Regions from separate parts of the Homo sapiens genome. Here region 2 is linked to region 1. The links are contacts of gene promoters, found by promoter capture Hi-C in human tissues and cell types (Jung and others, 2019). All regions are on one chromosome and are shown on one strand. The core of a region is centred on a gene start or on the middle of the fragment in contact, and the rest is flanking DNA. Distances in the headings are between cores, read along the strand shown. Region 1 holds the start of KCNK13 (potassium two pore domain channel subfamily K member 13). Region 2 overlaps TDP1 (tyrosyl-DNA phosphodiesterase 1).

Region 1 (6,643 bases), core at 2,153-4,652:
AACTAAGACAAAGTTCCTCTCTAGCAACTTCGTAGCTCCACTTGCATCCCGTATTTCTGTTCTTCTTTTCCCTGGTTCTGAAGTTTTATTTGTATTTTATGATTATTTTCCTGTATACTTTGTCTGCTACCTCAAAGTCTTTGCAGAATAAAGCATGGTGGAATTAATTTTTAGAGGAAAAACACCATCATGTAATGTTACAATAAAAATGCAAGATATGAGTGGTTTATAGAATATAATTCTAATTTTTAAAAATGCATATGTATATAAGTATACGCAGAGGAAAAAGGAGACCAGAAGAAAATGGACCAAAACATGAACAGTGGTTAATTTGGATGATATTACTGCATATAACTTGATTTTTTTCTTCTTTATACTTTATTTTACAAAAAACCTGAACCTTCAGCTTTTTCATCTATAACGGGGGAGTGTTATGCCTACCTCATGGAGTTGTGTTGGCTGAAATGAAGTGTGAATGTCACACAGCAATGAGCTGCATTGCACATTCACATAATAATCATACAGTATGTGCCTAATACGGGCCTGATAAAGGTTAGCCAGTGCTGTTATTACAACAATTAGTGAAACAATTTAAAAGGAAATGTTACAAATGAGAAATAAAAATCAGCCCACACTGACATCATGTTTTTTACCTTTTAACACGCACGCACTTACAAGAGCTCATTGTCCCTCACAAGAACCCTGTGACAGGGGCAGGCTTACGCAGACGGAGGGAGCAGGGGGCAGGACTAATATTCACCAAATAGCTGATGTGCCAGATACCAAGGTGGGCACTCTGTAGATGCCTCAGATGAGAAAAGGATGGGGCTCGGAATAGTTAAGAGGCTTGCCCAAGATACAGAGGCAGGATGAAAAGCTCCCACTCCAGACTCTTTGTCCAGGTTTCTTTCCACTCCTCCATGCCACATTGTCATATTCGTATCCCCAAAGCCCATGTTCCTATATGGCCACCTACCCATGCCACTCTCAGTTCCTGCTACATGGATGCACCTGTCCACACACACACTCTGCTCCTTCCTGCCTCTGTGCCCACTGGGAGCACCAAGAGATGGTTTTTCATGGTGGTGGGAAAGATTCAGCCATCAAATCTCCCATCAAAACCACCCTAAGTTACCATTCAATCTAAAAAAATCCTGTACTTGCTATGCAAACACAGTAGAGTCAAGGTCACTTCCAAAGTGACACCTCCTAATCAGTTTGTTCATCCCAAGTCTTGCCTATGTGGAGATTCTGGAACTGTCTTCTGGGACGTGGGAGGTGATGTGAGGAGGGGCTTGTGGAACACGGCTAAGAGTCCAGCAGATAGTGTGGGCTCAGGGGGAGAACCATGGGGGTGTTATTCCTCCTTCACCAATCTTGGGCCCATTCTGGTCTGCTGCAAGGTTTCCTGCCTGATACCCAGTTATGGTGGTGCCATCATGGCCTGCTGATGGGCCGCACCATCTGGGATGGGATGGGGGCTGGGAGCCAGGCACTTCAGATACAGCCGGTGTGTCCCTAATCATACTGGTCCTCTGCCTCGCCTCCTGTGCATCAGCTGAAGCCCTGGATTCCTGGACTAGCCCTGGGAAGTCTTTCATGATGAATCTGACCTGAAGCCAATCTCTTTTGTCTTTTGTGCTGCTTCTCCTGGCAGAATGTCTATGTAGCACAGCCATGTGTGGGAGCCTCAAGGAGGCTCAACTTGTCGCCCCACCTCACCAGCGAGCTCTTCTAGAGTGCACAGGGGCAGTAGCTACAGAGCGCTCAGCACATGCACCCTGGGCTGTTTGCAACTGCCAGCCTTTTTTGCAGCTTGGAGGCCACTTCCTCTCCGTCTAACTCTTCCAACCTCCCTCCCCTGCTCCAGGTCTCTTTTTGCCCCCCTCAGAATTTATTTCTACAGCATCTTCCCTAACCCCCATTAATCACTTGATTATTCTTCAAGGATGAACAATCTTTAGGGGTGTGGCGCAGACTCCCCCAAATCATTTTCCTTCTGCTGGGAAATAAACACAGCTGATTGTAGCTGTGCTACATCTTTGCTAAAAAATTCTCAATGGCTCCCAGGTGCCTCTAGGTAAATTCCAGCTCCTCAGTCTGTCAGTGAAGGTCCTACCCCCGCCTCCATCCCATTAGCCAGCAGACCTTCCTAGTCTTCCTTCCACCACTCCAACCAGCTCATGGGGCCCCTGAGTGCGATTCTCTCCTACTCTAGAGTGCAACCGCGCTTTCAGTTCCCAAACCCAAGTTATGCCTAACACGAATTGATTCAGCCCAAAGGTCACTTCCCTGGTTCTTCCTGGTGGAAAATTTTCCATCTTTTGAACCGTCATTGGCACTTTTGCTTCCTCACTTTCAGTCTGCTGTTCTGATTTTTTCTCGGTAAGTGTGAAGTCGAGGGCAGAATCTTTTAAAATCTGCACTTCCCCTCTGACTGACTCAGTAAATGTTTAGTTTCCTGTCCCTATCTGTAAAAGCCTTCTTCCCCATGAACTCAAGCCGTGTCTCCTTCATTAGACTGAAAATCTCCCAGAGCAGAGCGTCTCCAATTTAAGGATCATTCCAATCCTTTGGGGACTTTGTTAACATGCAGATTCTGACTCGGCAGGTCTGCAGAGGGGACTGAGACTGCATTTCTAACAAGCTGCCAGGTGACGCTGAAGCTGCCGGTGCCTGGACCACATTAGAGCAGCGGGGAGGCAATACCACCTGTTGATCAGGCGACAGCTCATGTCAGTGGAGTCTGGCTGGGCGCCCAGATGGATGAATGAAAGGATGAGAGGGTCGGTCCTGCCCCCCGGAGGAAGTGGAGGCCGCCCGGAGGTTGTCAGCGAGTCCGGCCAGCACACTTACCTATGGTGGAAACGACGGTGCCCACGAAGTAGAAGGCGCCGGTGAAGTCCCAGCGCGGGCGGACGTTGTCCACGCGGATGCCGGCCCGAGTGGCCTCCTCGTAGTGGCGGAGGAAGCCGCGCAGCTCGTCGCGGCTCAGGTTGTGGCCGCGGCTGAAGTTGGCCAGGCGCTCCTCCCAGCGCTGCTTGGCCTGGCGCTCGTGCGCCAGCTCCAGCGCGGAGAAGACGGCGGCGCCGCCCAGCAGGTAGAGCACGATGAGCGCGGCCAGCAGCAGAAAGCGCGCGTTGTCCTCGTTCAGGTGGCCCGGGCCCCAGCTGAAACCCCGGCCAGCCATGGCCGGGCCCCCGGGGGCAGCCCCCAGGCCCACGGCACCGGGCGTCGGCGGAGTCTCGCCCACACCCCCGGGAAATAAGGGCCCCGGCGCTCAGCCAGCTCCCGGGCGCCCCACCGCCGGCTCGCCCATGACCGCCGGGCTCTCCCGCAGGCCGCGAGGCTCCCCCGGCCGCCGCCTCGGTAGCTCCTGTGGCGCCAGCTCCCCACGTCCTCCTTGACTCCTAGTTTCAAATCCGCTTTGTCGCCGCCGTTCCCCTCCACTCCCCCTGCTCTCCTCGGAGTTCTCCTTAACGCTGAAGGTCCCGGGGAACGGGCGCAGAGTTCACGTCTGCTTGGCGCTGGGATGCGGGCGCAGTTTCCACCCCGGCTCCCTGTCCGGCTCAGATAGGGGAGGGGGCGTGGCGCGTCTTCAGGGCAAGCTCGAGCCAACTCGAGTTTCCCGCAAAGAGACGGTCGCGGGGCGGGGCGGGGCGGGGCGGGGCGGCGGGGGGGGGGCGCGGTCCGGAGGTCTGCGGGTAAGCAGAGCGCCGGGGTCCTGGGTCCTGGTTCCTTTGACTATCGCTTCGCAGGCCGCCGACGGCTAGGACACGGGTGTCAGTCTGCTGGCTTTGTAGGTGCCTCCCCAGGTAGATCGACGATGGTGCCTCCTAGTTGTGGTCGTGGTGTCGCGCTGAGCCTGTGGCCTCCCGAGTCTCCGAATCGGCTGCCGGGGCTTAGGGATGGAGGGGGTCCAGGGCGGGCGCACGGAGAGAGGGGCTGTGCTGAGCGGCGTCCGAGGGCTGCGGCGTCCGAGGGCTCCGACCTCCGGCCGGGCCCCAACGCTGCGCATCCGTTGGGCGGACGGGCTGGAGAGAGGAGACCAGAAAGGGAGGTTGGAACAGGGAGCAAAGGAAGTTAGGGGCTTCTCCCCCGGGCAGCCTCCCTCGCCTTGACCATGCCAGAGCGCCCTTGGTCTCTGGATCCTGCGCGGGGGCGTCCTCTGCGCCTACTAGTAGGCTCCGCCCGGACCAAGCGCGCACCGCGAGCCAGCCCCGCTTCCGGAGAGGAGGCCAAACACTGGGGGCTGGAAGGGCTCCGCGGCCAGGAGACCTTGACCTTGGAGCGTTCCATCTCTTCCCCCCGGGCTTGGCTGCCTAGTGCGTTCCAGAGTTTTGCCTGGACGCGGGGTCCGCGCAGAAGGCATCCCCCACCTCATGCAGAACAGTAGCAAGGCTCTCCAGCAAACCGCCGGGGCCCCCTCCCCGAGACCCCGCCTTGTAGCGGGCGCTGGCGCCGCTGCCGCGCTCAGATCTCACCTTCCGGGGAGCGCCCTCTCCGCGCCGCTCCGTCGGGACTGTTCCCGGGCCTCCTGGCAGCCGCGGCCCTGCCCTGCCAGCCGGCGCGCGGAGCACAGGTCCGCACCGCGCTCTGCCTTCTCAGGCGGGCGCGCTCCGACGCTGCAACAGGTAGAGCCGTGCGGCTGCCAGCTGCGGCGACTCCACCCTGTCGCCCGCCTCCTTGCGCGCGGGCCCGCCTCCTGCGCTGGTCTCCGCGGGTAGACGCTCGGCGTTCGAAGGGCCGACCCGGGGCTGCGGTGCTCCCACCAGGGCGCGCAGATCTGGGTAGTGGATGCAGAACCGGCTGGTGGGACGCTCAGCCGGTCCGCGTGGGCCCTCCGGGGCCGGGAGAGGGCGCTCTGCCCCCTCCAGACACATCCCGCCCCCGCCCGCGCACACAGCCCCGCGCGGCCCTCCGGAATCACCCGCCCGGGCGTGTGGGAGCGAATCTGTACGCGGAGAGGAATGGATACGTGGGCATCTTCCCACCTTCCGAGAGAGCGGTTTCAGGCGCAGAGCCCCACACACCGCCCTTACGCACCAGGAGCAGAGACAGAAGGGCTAGGAGCCCTGTTGAGTAAAACCGTGTGATTTCGAATAAAGAAACACAGCTCTGGCGAGTGCATTTTCATCAGAAACCCTGGTGCTGTTAGCAGTCCTCTCGGCTCTGTTACTCACTCCCCAATGCCCCTCTTTCATCTAGCCTTCTGAGGGGCAAGAGCTTTAGGGGCATCGCGAGAATGGGTGCATGTGTATACACCCAGGGTGAGTACTGCAATTACCTTTTAAATCCATTTTATTATGAAAAATTTCAAACATTCTAAAAAGTTGAATTTTACAGTGAACACCCGTATACCCACCACCTAGATTCTACAATTAACATGTTACTATACTTGATTTATTAGATATCTACCCGTCCCTCTGTCCATCCATCAACCCATCTTGTTTGGATGCATTTCAGAGTAAGTTGCAGAGCTTGGTACACTTCCGCCCTCATCCCCAGTACTTCTGCCTGCATATCACTACGTAGGGTTCAATATTTACTTGCAGAATTTTTTTCCTTTTCGGATAAAATTTACATACAATGAAATGCACAAATCTTAAGTGTATCATTAGGTGAGTTCTGACAAATGGGTACACCTCTGCAAATCACCTATCCAACCTACCAGCCAAACATCACCAACAGGGTCCCCCTAAGTCCCTTCCCTGTAACTCCCTACCCACATTCCTCCAGAGAAAACCACTGTTCAGAATTTTTCTACCATCGATTACTTTCGCTTTTATAGAACTGTTTTTTTGTTCTAAATCTCCATATAAATGGAATCATGCCGGTATGTACTCTTTGGTGGAAAACATTATGTTTTTGAGATTTACCCATGTTATATGTCTTAGTAATTCCTTCCTCTTTATTGCTAGTTTTTCATTGTTTGGGTATACCATAGTTTGTTTATTCATTCTCCTCCTATTGATAGAAAGGAGAACTGTTAGAAAATTTTGGTCATCATAAATAAAACTGTTAGGAACATTCTTGTACAACTATGTAGACATATGTTTTCATATCTCTTACGTAAAGACCTAGGAGCGGAATTGCTGGGTCATAGGGTAGGTATGTATTTTGCTTTATGAGAAACTGCCCGACATTTTCCCAAAGCAGCTGTACTGACAGTGTACACTAGTTCTGGATGCTCCGTATCTTTGTCAACATTTGGCAGTATCAGTCATTTTAATTTTAAAACTACTGGTGGATGTAGCAATATCTCACTGTGGTTTTAATTTGCATTTCCCTGATGTCTAAAAATACTGGTGGATGTAGCGATATCTCACTGTGGTTTTAATTTGCATTTCCCTGATGTCTAATGCGCTTGCTGGCCACTTGTGTACCTTCTCTTGTGAATTTTCTGTTGAAATATTTTGCCCACTTAAAAAATTAGTTTCTCTGTTACTGAATTATAGAGATCCTTTATATATGCAGGATACGAGTACTTTCTCAGATACATATCTTGCAAATATTTTCTAACTCTGATTTGCCTATTTATTTTCTTAAATATGTTTTCTGTATGTTTGGTGCCCTTTGAGAAATCATTACCTCCTTCAAGGTTGCATAGGTTTTCTGTCTCCCCACACTTTTATATTTGGGT
Region 2 (6,735 bases), core at 2,393-4,892, 85 kb after region 1:
GCATTACCTGTTACTACTAGGGACCGTTGGAACCTTCTGGTCTGGTGTTTGAGATTCAAAGTATGGTCAACAACCTCTTGCTGCATCATGGCTGGCATTTTTTAAACAACTAAAATAGCATAAATTGGTATACTGTATATATTTAATTACTGGTTCATGAAATTTTGTTTTGGCACAAAGGTATGTTAGTGCACAATACACTGAAATGTAAAGTGTATTTCTTATTATGAGTTGAAATTTTAAGAAGTTTAAAAGATGCTTCATTACCATTAGTGGTTTTTTGTATCCATAGATGCCACACTTGTCAAAAGTGTGTTATCTGGGCTTGGGGTAAGTCTTGCCTATTCTTCATTAACCCAAATCAGACTTAGTGGGGTCCACTCTTTTTCCATGTGACCTCCCCAGGCCTCTAGTCGAACACATTTCTCTTATTTTAATTGCAGTGAGAGAGAGGGAATAGGATATAGATAAAAGCTTTCCATTTGAAGTCTGAAGACCTGAGCTCCAGACTTTGTCATTTAGAAGCCCTTTGACCCTAGGTAAGCCATTCAATGTCCCCGAGCCTCAGTTTTCCACTTGTATCTCTAAGGATCAACCCCACTTCAGGACTATTGTGAGTGAAATGCAAAAATACATTTTGCTGCCAGGCACGGTGGCTCATGCCTGTAATCCCAGCACTTTGGGAGGCTGAGGCTGGCAGATCACCTGAGGTTAGGAGTTTGAGACCAGGCTTGCCAACATGGTGAAACCCATCTCCACTAAAAATATAAAAATTAGCTAGGTGTGGTCGTGGGCACCTGTAATCACAGCTACTAAGCAGGCTGAGGCAGGTGAATCAGTTGAAGCTGGGAGGCGGAGGTTGCAGTGAGCCGAGACTGCACCACTGCACTCCAGCCTGGGTGACAGAGTGAAACTCTGTCTCAAAAAAAAAAAAAAATTGTTAAATGTGAAACACTCTCACCTGTACATTCCTATTACTCCTTTGGTACACAGCTTTATTTTCTCATCTAATAATGGATGATTTTTATCTCCCTGTTGTTTTCAATAGGATTATTTCAATATTTCAGGAATCTAAGTTCTCTCTCTCCAACTAAAGTGTCACTTCTCATGGCTGTAACTCTGTCTTGACTTATTTTATCATTTCTATTGAGGCCAAAATGCTACTTAATACTTACTGATGAAACTCAATTCACACATGGCAAAAAAAAGTGAACCACTGGCTCTCTCCAAATAAACAACATGAACATTATCTGGGCAGGATGAAATTATCATAAAAAGATAAGAAAAAGGGTACGAGAAGAGACAAGAGAATGAGATATTTAGCTCTTGCCAAAACGAGAAATTAACCCAAGCTGGCAAACAGTAAATTAATGCAAAGCTGGAGAAATGACAGCTGCTGTGCCATCTTCTTTCCATTTGTGAAATGTGCTCCCTGAAATCTGGGCAAATTTACATACACAGTTGCCAAATCAGCAGCTGATTGTAATTAAGAATAAGTCAGTTATGGATTCATGATAGAACGTTTACAAATATTTCCATTAGTCAAGACATCGATTATCAGGCAAATCACACACTAATGTCAATGAATGCTATCAAATAGAATTATGAACTTGAGAGTAGCCATATTCATCTTTTCATAGACAAAATGGTAGTGTTAATAAGGTCACAGTTAAAAATGGATAGAAAAGGGTGAGGAATGAGATCTCCCTTGAAGAATGCTGACCTGCCATACTGTCTGCTAAGCTGTGAGGCAGCAAAAGGGACCCAACCCAAATGCGCAGCTATTCCTGCAAAGGGGGAAGAGAACTAACATATGGCAAGCACCTCTCTACCAGGTGCCATCCTAGAAGCTCTGTCGTATGTTACCACACCAAGTCTTCACAGCAATACAGAAGAGGAGTTATTCTCATTCTACAATTGTGGAATCTACAGCTGGACATTTAACAGGGATTATCCAAGGTCACAAAGTGGGCCAGCGGAAGAGCTTGTTGGGATCACAAATGCCAGATGCCAGGGCACTCCTTTCACCACACATGGTTTCACAGGGCTGGTGGCAGCAACGGTGAACACTTCATGCTACTGGTACAGGGGTAGGTGAGGTGGGGGGAGACATGGCCTTGGTGGGAAAGAGGACTAAATGATGCATGGTGGGGGCCTGACTACAGATCTTAGTGGAAAGAGGCATGCCTCGCCCATCCTGTGGTTTGCTACTGGCCACCACCTGGATCTGGATATTTGACATTCAGCTGCTTTGGCTTTCTCTTTCCCCTCTATCGATTCTTGGAGCCATAAGAATTAACTCTGCTCCCAGCTCTAGAGGAAACCAAAGAGCTTTCCCATTCTAAAACACTGTGAGACAGACCACGGGATTGCATGGCATCCAACCAAAACTGGACAGAGCAGGGCTTGTGTGCCAAAGTGTATGCAGTCTCAAAGACTGCCTCGTTCACTGTTTCTAGCTCTACCCTGTGAGGTGGGGAAGGCAGTTTACCCTCCATCACTATGATCTGGAAGGTGATTCTCCTTTTCTAATTCACATGTTTGTCTTGCTTCTCTCACCAAAGAAAAAGCTGTAAGAATAAAAACTCTATATCCTCTTGAGCTGTGTCAAGAACATAAGAAGTATTTAATTCTTAAAACATTTTAAAAATACGCTAGGTGCGGTGGCTCACGCCTGTAATCCCGGCACTTTGGGAGGCCGAGGCGGGTGGATCACCTGAGGTCAGGAGTTCGAGACCAGCCTGGCCAGCATGGTGAAACCCCATCTCTACTAAAAATACAAAAATTAGCTGGACGTGGTGGCACACGCCTGTAGTCCCAGCAACTCAGGAGGCTGAGGCAAGAGAATTGCTTGAACCTGGGAGGCGGAGGTTGTAACGAGCTGAGATTGCGCCATTGTACTCCAGCCTGGGCAACAGAGCGAGACTGTCTCAACAAAAAAAAAATTTTTTTTTAAATAAGCAACTAAAAGTAATTTCAAGACACGAGCTCAATCTTCTACAAGATAATGTCATTTCAACAAAATGTAAACTACAGATACTTAATTGGGAAAAGTTCAACTGTAATTACTTTCCTAGGCATTTTCTTTTGTTTTCGAGACAGGGTCTCACTCTGTCACCCAAACTGGAGTGCAGTGGCATGATCTTGGCTCGCCACAACCTCCGCCTTGCAGGCTCAAGCGATTCTCCTGCCTCAGCCTCCCATGTAGCTGGGATTATAGGCATGTCCCACTACTGCCCGGCTAATTTTTATATTTTTAGTAGAGATGGGGTTTCACCATGTTGGCCAGATTGGTCTCGAACTCCTGATCTCAAATAATCCACCCACCTTGGCCTCCCAAAGTGCTGGGATTACAGGCATGAGCCACAGCGCCCAGCCTCCTAGGCATTTTAAACTCTGAATTAAGAGCTCTTGGCCAGGCATGGTAGCTCACACCTGTAATCCCAACACTTGGGGAGGCAGAGGAGGGTGGATCACCTGAGGTCAGGAGTTTGAGACCAGCCTGGCAAACATGGTGAAACCCCGTCTCTAATAAAAATATAAAAGTTAGCCAGGTGTGGTGGCAGTGGCCTGTAACCCCAGCTACTTGGGAGGCTGAGGCAGGAGAATCGTTTGAACCCAGGAGATGGAGGTTGCAGTGAGCCAAGATTGTGCCACTGCACTCCAGGCTGGGCAACAGAGCGAGACTCTGTCTAAAAAAAAAAAAAAAAAAAAAAAAAAAAGAGCTCTGTTGAGTTTAACCTGCAAAGTATGTGTGTAGGAGCGAGGGGGTAGTGGTGAATGGACCAAAGGAAATAATAAGGTAAATTTTAGCAATGAGCAAACAAGAACAAATTTAAAGCTAAAGTTAATGCCAGCACAGGGGCTCATGCCTGTAATCCCAGCACTTTGAGAGGCTAAGGCAGGAGGTCTGTTTGAGTCCAGGAGTTCGAGATCAGCCTGGGTCACAAAGTGAGACCCCTGTCTCTACAAAAAAATTAGCCAGGCATGGTGGCGTGTGCCTGTAGTCCCAGCTGCTCGGGAGGCTGAGGTGGGAGGATTGCTTAAGCCCAGGAGTTGGAGGCTGCAGTGAGCTGTGATCATGCCACTGCACTCCAGTCTGGGCAACAGAGTGAGACCACATCTTGAAAAATTGTGTGTATATATTAATTAAAGTTAGAATAAATAGGTTCTATTCCTGTCTCCACTACTGGCCCAAGGAAAAATCACATACCTAAACCTGGGCCTCAGTTTCCTGATCTATAAAATTAAAAGGAAAGACCAAATAATTTTTATAAGAGCATTAAATAAAAGAATAGCTCCCCCAGGCTCAGTTAAGCATCGCTGTGCTAGATCCTAGGTGGGCCTACCATGCTCAGTCTCTCCTAAGAATAACCGTGTAATGGACAAATGACAATGCTTGAGGGGTTCCCCTATTTCACAAAAAGTGCTTACGTGTGGTGTGTTCCAAACGCAATATCCAACTTTGCCTAGGATGAAAAAGAAGTCATTTATTTAAAAACAACTCACTAATATCCATATCTACTGGAAATTACATTAGAAAGCAATCAGGTCAACTTTTTTTTTTAAAACTATTTTTACTGATCTCTACCAGGCAAGCCCTTGAATAACAAGACAGCTTTTATAATAGCATCTGGGGACGCTCATTAAAAAAAAAAAAAAAAAAAACACAAATTTTGTTACCCAGAATGATTATACACTACAGAATATATACTACATTTTTAATTACAGTAATTAGGACTGAGAAGCCTAAATTCTTTAGTTGACAAAAAACTAGTAAAACAAGTGAGTCTCTATGCAAAGTTTTAGATATTTGGCTTATACAGAAATTAATGGTACACAGTTTTCAGAGCATATTTAAAAGAAACACTGAAGGCCAGGTGCGGTGGCTCACGCCTGTAATCCCAGCACTTTGGGAGGCTGAGGCGGGCACATCACGAAGTCAGGAGATGGAGACCATCCTGGCTAACGCAGTGGAACCCCGTTTCTACTAAAAATATGAAAAAATTTGCCAGGCGTGGTGGCCAGCGCCTGTAGTCCCAGCTACTTAGGAGGCTGAGGCAGGAGAATGGCGTGAACCCAGGAGGCAGAGCTTGCAGTGAGCTGAGATAGCGCCACTGCACTCCAGCCTGGGTGACAGAGCGAGACTCCGTCTCCAAAAACAAAAAAAGAAACACTGAAAGTGGTGGCAACATAAAGACTTAGGATGTTAAATTAAAATAGAAATGTTCTTATATTAGCATAGCAAGTGCTGAAAATAAAAACATATGAAATCCATTTTCATGTTATAAAATGACACCTTTACAAACTAATGGAGGGTATGTATATAGAAAACATGTTATCTAATACCCACTAATGCCAGATCTTGGTTAAGCAGAATATGTCACAAGATGCAGATTATGAAAGAGTTTAAATAACCGTAAAAGTTTCACAATTAGGAACGCAGTACATGGGCTCAAATCCTGCCTTCACAACTTTGTATGACTCTGGAAAATACATCTAACTCTATGCCTCAGCTTTCTCCTCTTTAAAACGGTACCATTCTGAGATCCAGAGTTGTCAGGAACGAGATCACATATGTAAAATGCTGAGCAACGGGGGCCTGCATGCAATAGGCACTCTATAATCGTGGCAATCACTACTGCAACCTCTCCCCACTACCTACCCCAGCCTCCTTACCACATGACATGGGTGAAACTTTGCTGGGGGCAGTAATGGGCGACTGGAATACACAGGTGAGTTACAACACAGCTCCTGTTTGGAATGGAGATGCTCACAGACCAGCATGCATCTGTGCATTCTGGCCACAGAAGAAAGTGCAGGGAACTCTATTTCATGTTTTCAAAATTACCAAATGAGAAGGAAGACTGCCACTCTATAAACTGATATTTAGCTGAGAAAGAACAATGGTCAAGAGACCTGGCTTTTGTTTCGTTTGCTAAAAGTTACATGCTTCTGGGTAAGTCTAAGCACAAAAAACAAGGATAATAGCTTCAATAGATATTGTTTACTGGGTGCTGTTTTTGGGCTAGTGCACCAAGTCCTTTAGTAAACTCTAGGATGAACAGCATTAGCAATCAATTTCAAAGATAAAGAAATTAGGTGACAAGCCAGTGACAAGCCCAGAATAAGTGTTGTAGACTAAACACTTCTGTCCCCCACCAAATTCATATGTTGAAGCCCCAACTTCCAATGTGACTATTTGCAGAGAGGGACTTTATGGAGGTAATTAAGGTTAAATGAGGTCATAAGGGTGGGATCCTGATCCAACAGGACTGCTGTCCTTATACAAGAGCTACCAGACAGCCTATGTGTCTGTCTTCCTCCCTCTCCCTCATGAGGACACCGTGAGAACGTGGCCATCTATAAGCTGGCAAGAGAGCCCTCACCTGGAACTGAACTGACTGGCACCTTGATCCTGAATTCCCAGCTTCCAGAACTGTGAGAAATAAGTGTCTGTTGTTTCAGCGACCCAAGTCCAAGAAAAGTCACCCAGGTAATTTTGTTATAGCACCCAAGCAGACTAATACACACACGTAGAGCCGGGACTGAGCCCAGGCAATGTGACTCTGACCACCACAAGGTCTCAATGTCTGCCCTTAGGTCCCACATTTGCAAAATGGGAGAGGGTCAGCAGCCACCGATTCTCTGACTAATGTGTCTCAGTTTCAATGACTCACGTTGCTAGAAAAAGACTTTATCTTACAGACAAGGTATAAAGGTGCTTCAAGAGAT

What was found. Contacts are between HindIII fragments. The study calls those that stand out against the background at their distance.
Region 2: a contact is called between a fragment that was not itself captured here and the fragment with the promoter of KCNK13 in region 1, in 2 of the 25 tissues and cell types used here (H1 embryonic stem cells and heart right ventricle).

Annotation. Positions count from the first base shown.
Region 1 is chr14:90,058,753-90,065,395 of GRCh38, reverse strand. It overlaps KCNK13 (potassium two pore domain channel subfamily K member 13), which reads right to left and starts at 3,402. Exons shown (of 2, transcript NM_022054.4): 1 at 2,857-3,402. The coding sequence starts at 3,190. LOC124903406 reads right to left here. Exons shown (of 3, transcript XM_047432048.1): 2 at 4,485-4,994; 3 at 3,663-4,034. The coding sequence ends at 3,770. RefSeq lists enhancers at 3,460-3,959, 3,960-4,461 and a silencer at 4,710-5,099. The HindIII fragment of the contact is 23,188 bases long and covers 1-6,643 here.
Region 2 is chr14:89,973,515-89,980,249 of GRCh38, reverse strand. TDP1 (tyrosyl-DNA phosphodiesterase 1) reads right to left here. Exons shown (of 17, transcript NM_018319.4): 7 at 4,435-4,469. Among named protein-coding and RNA genes, the nearest start is that of TDP1, 21 kb to the right of the region's middle. The HindIII fragment of the contact is 7,845 bases long and covers 1-6,735 here.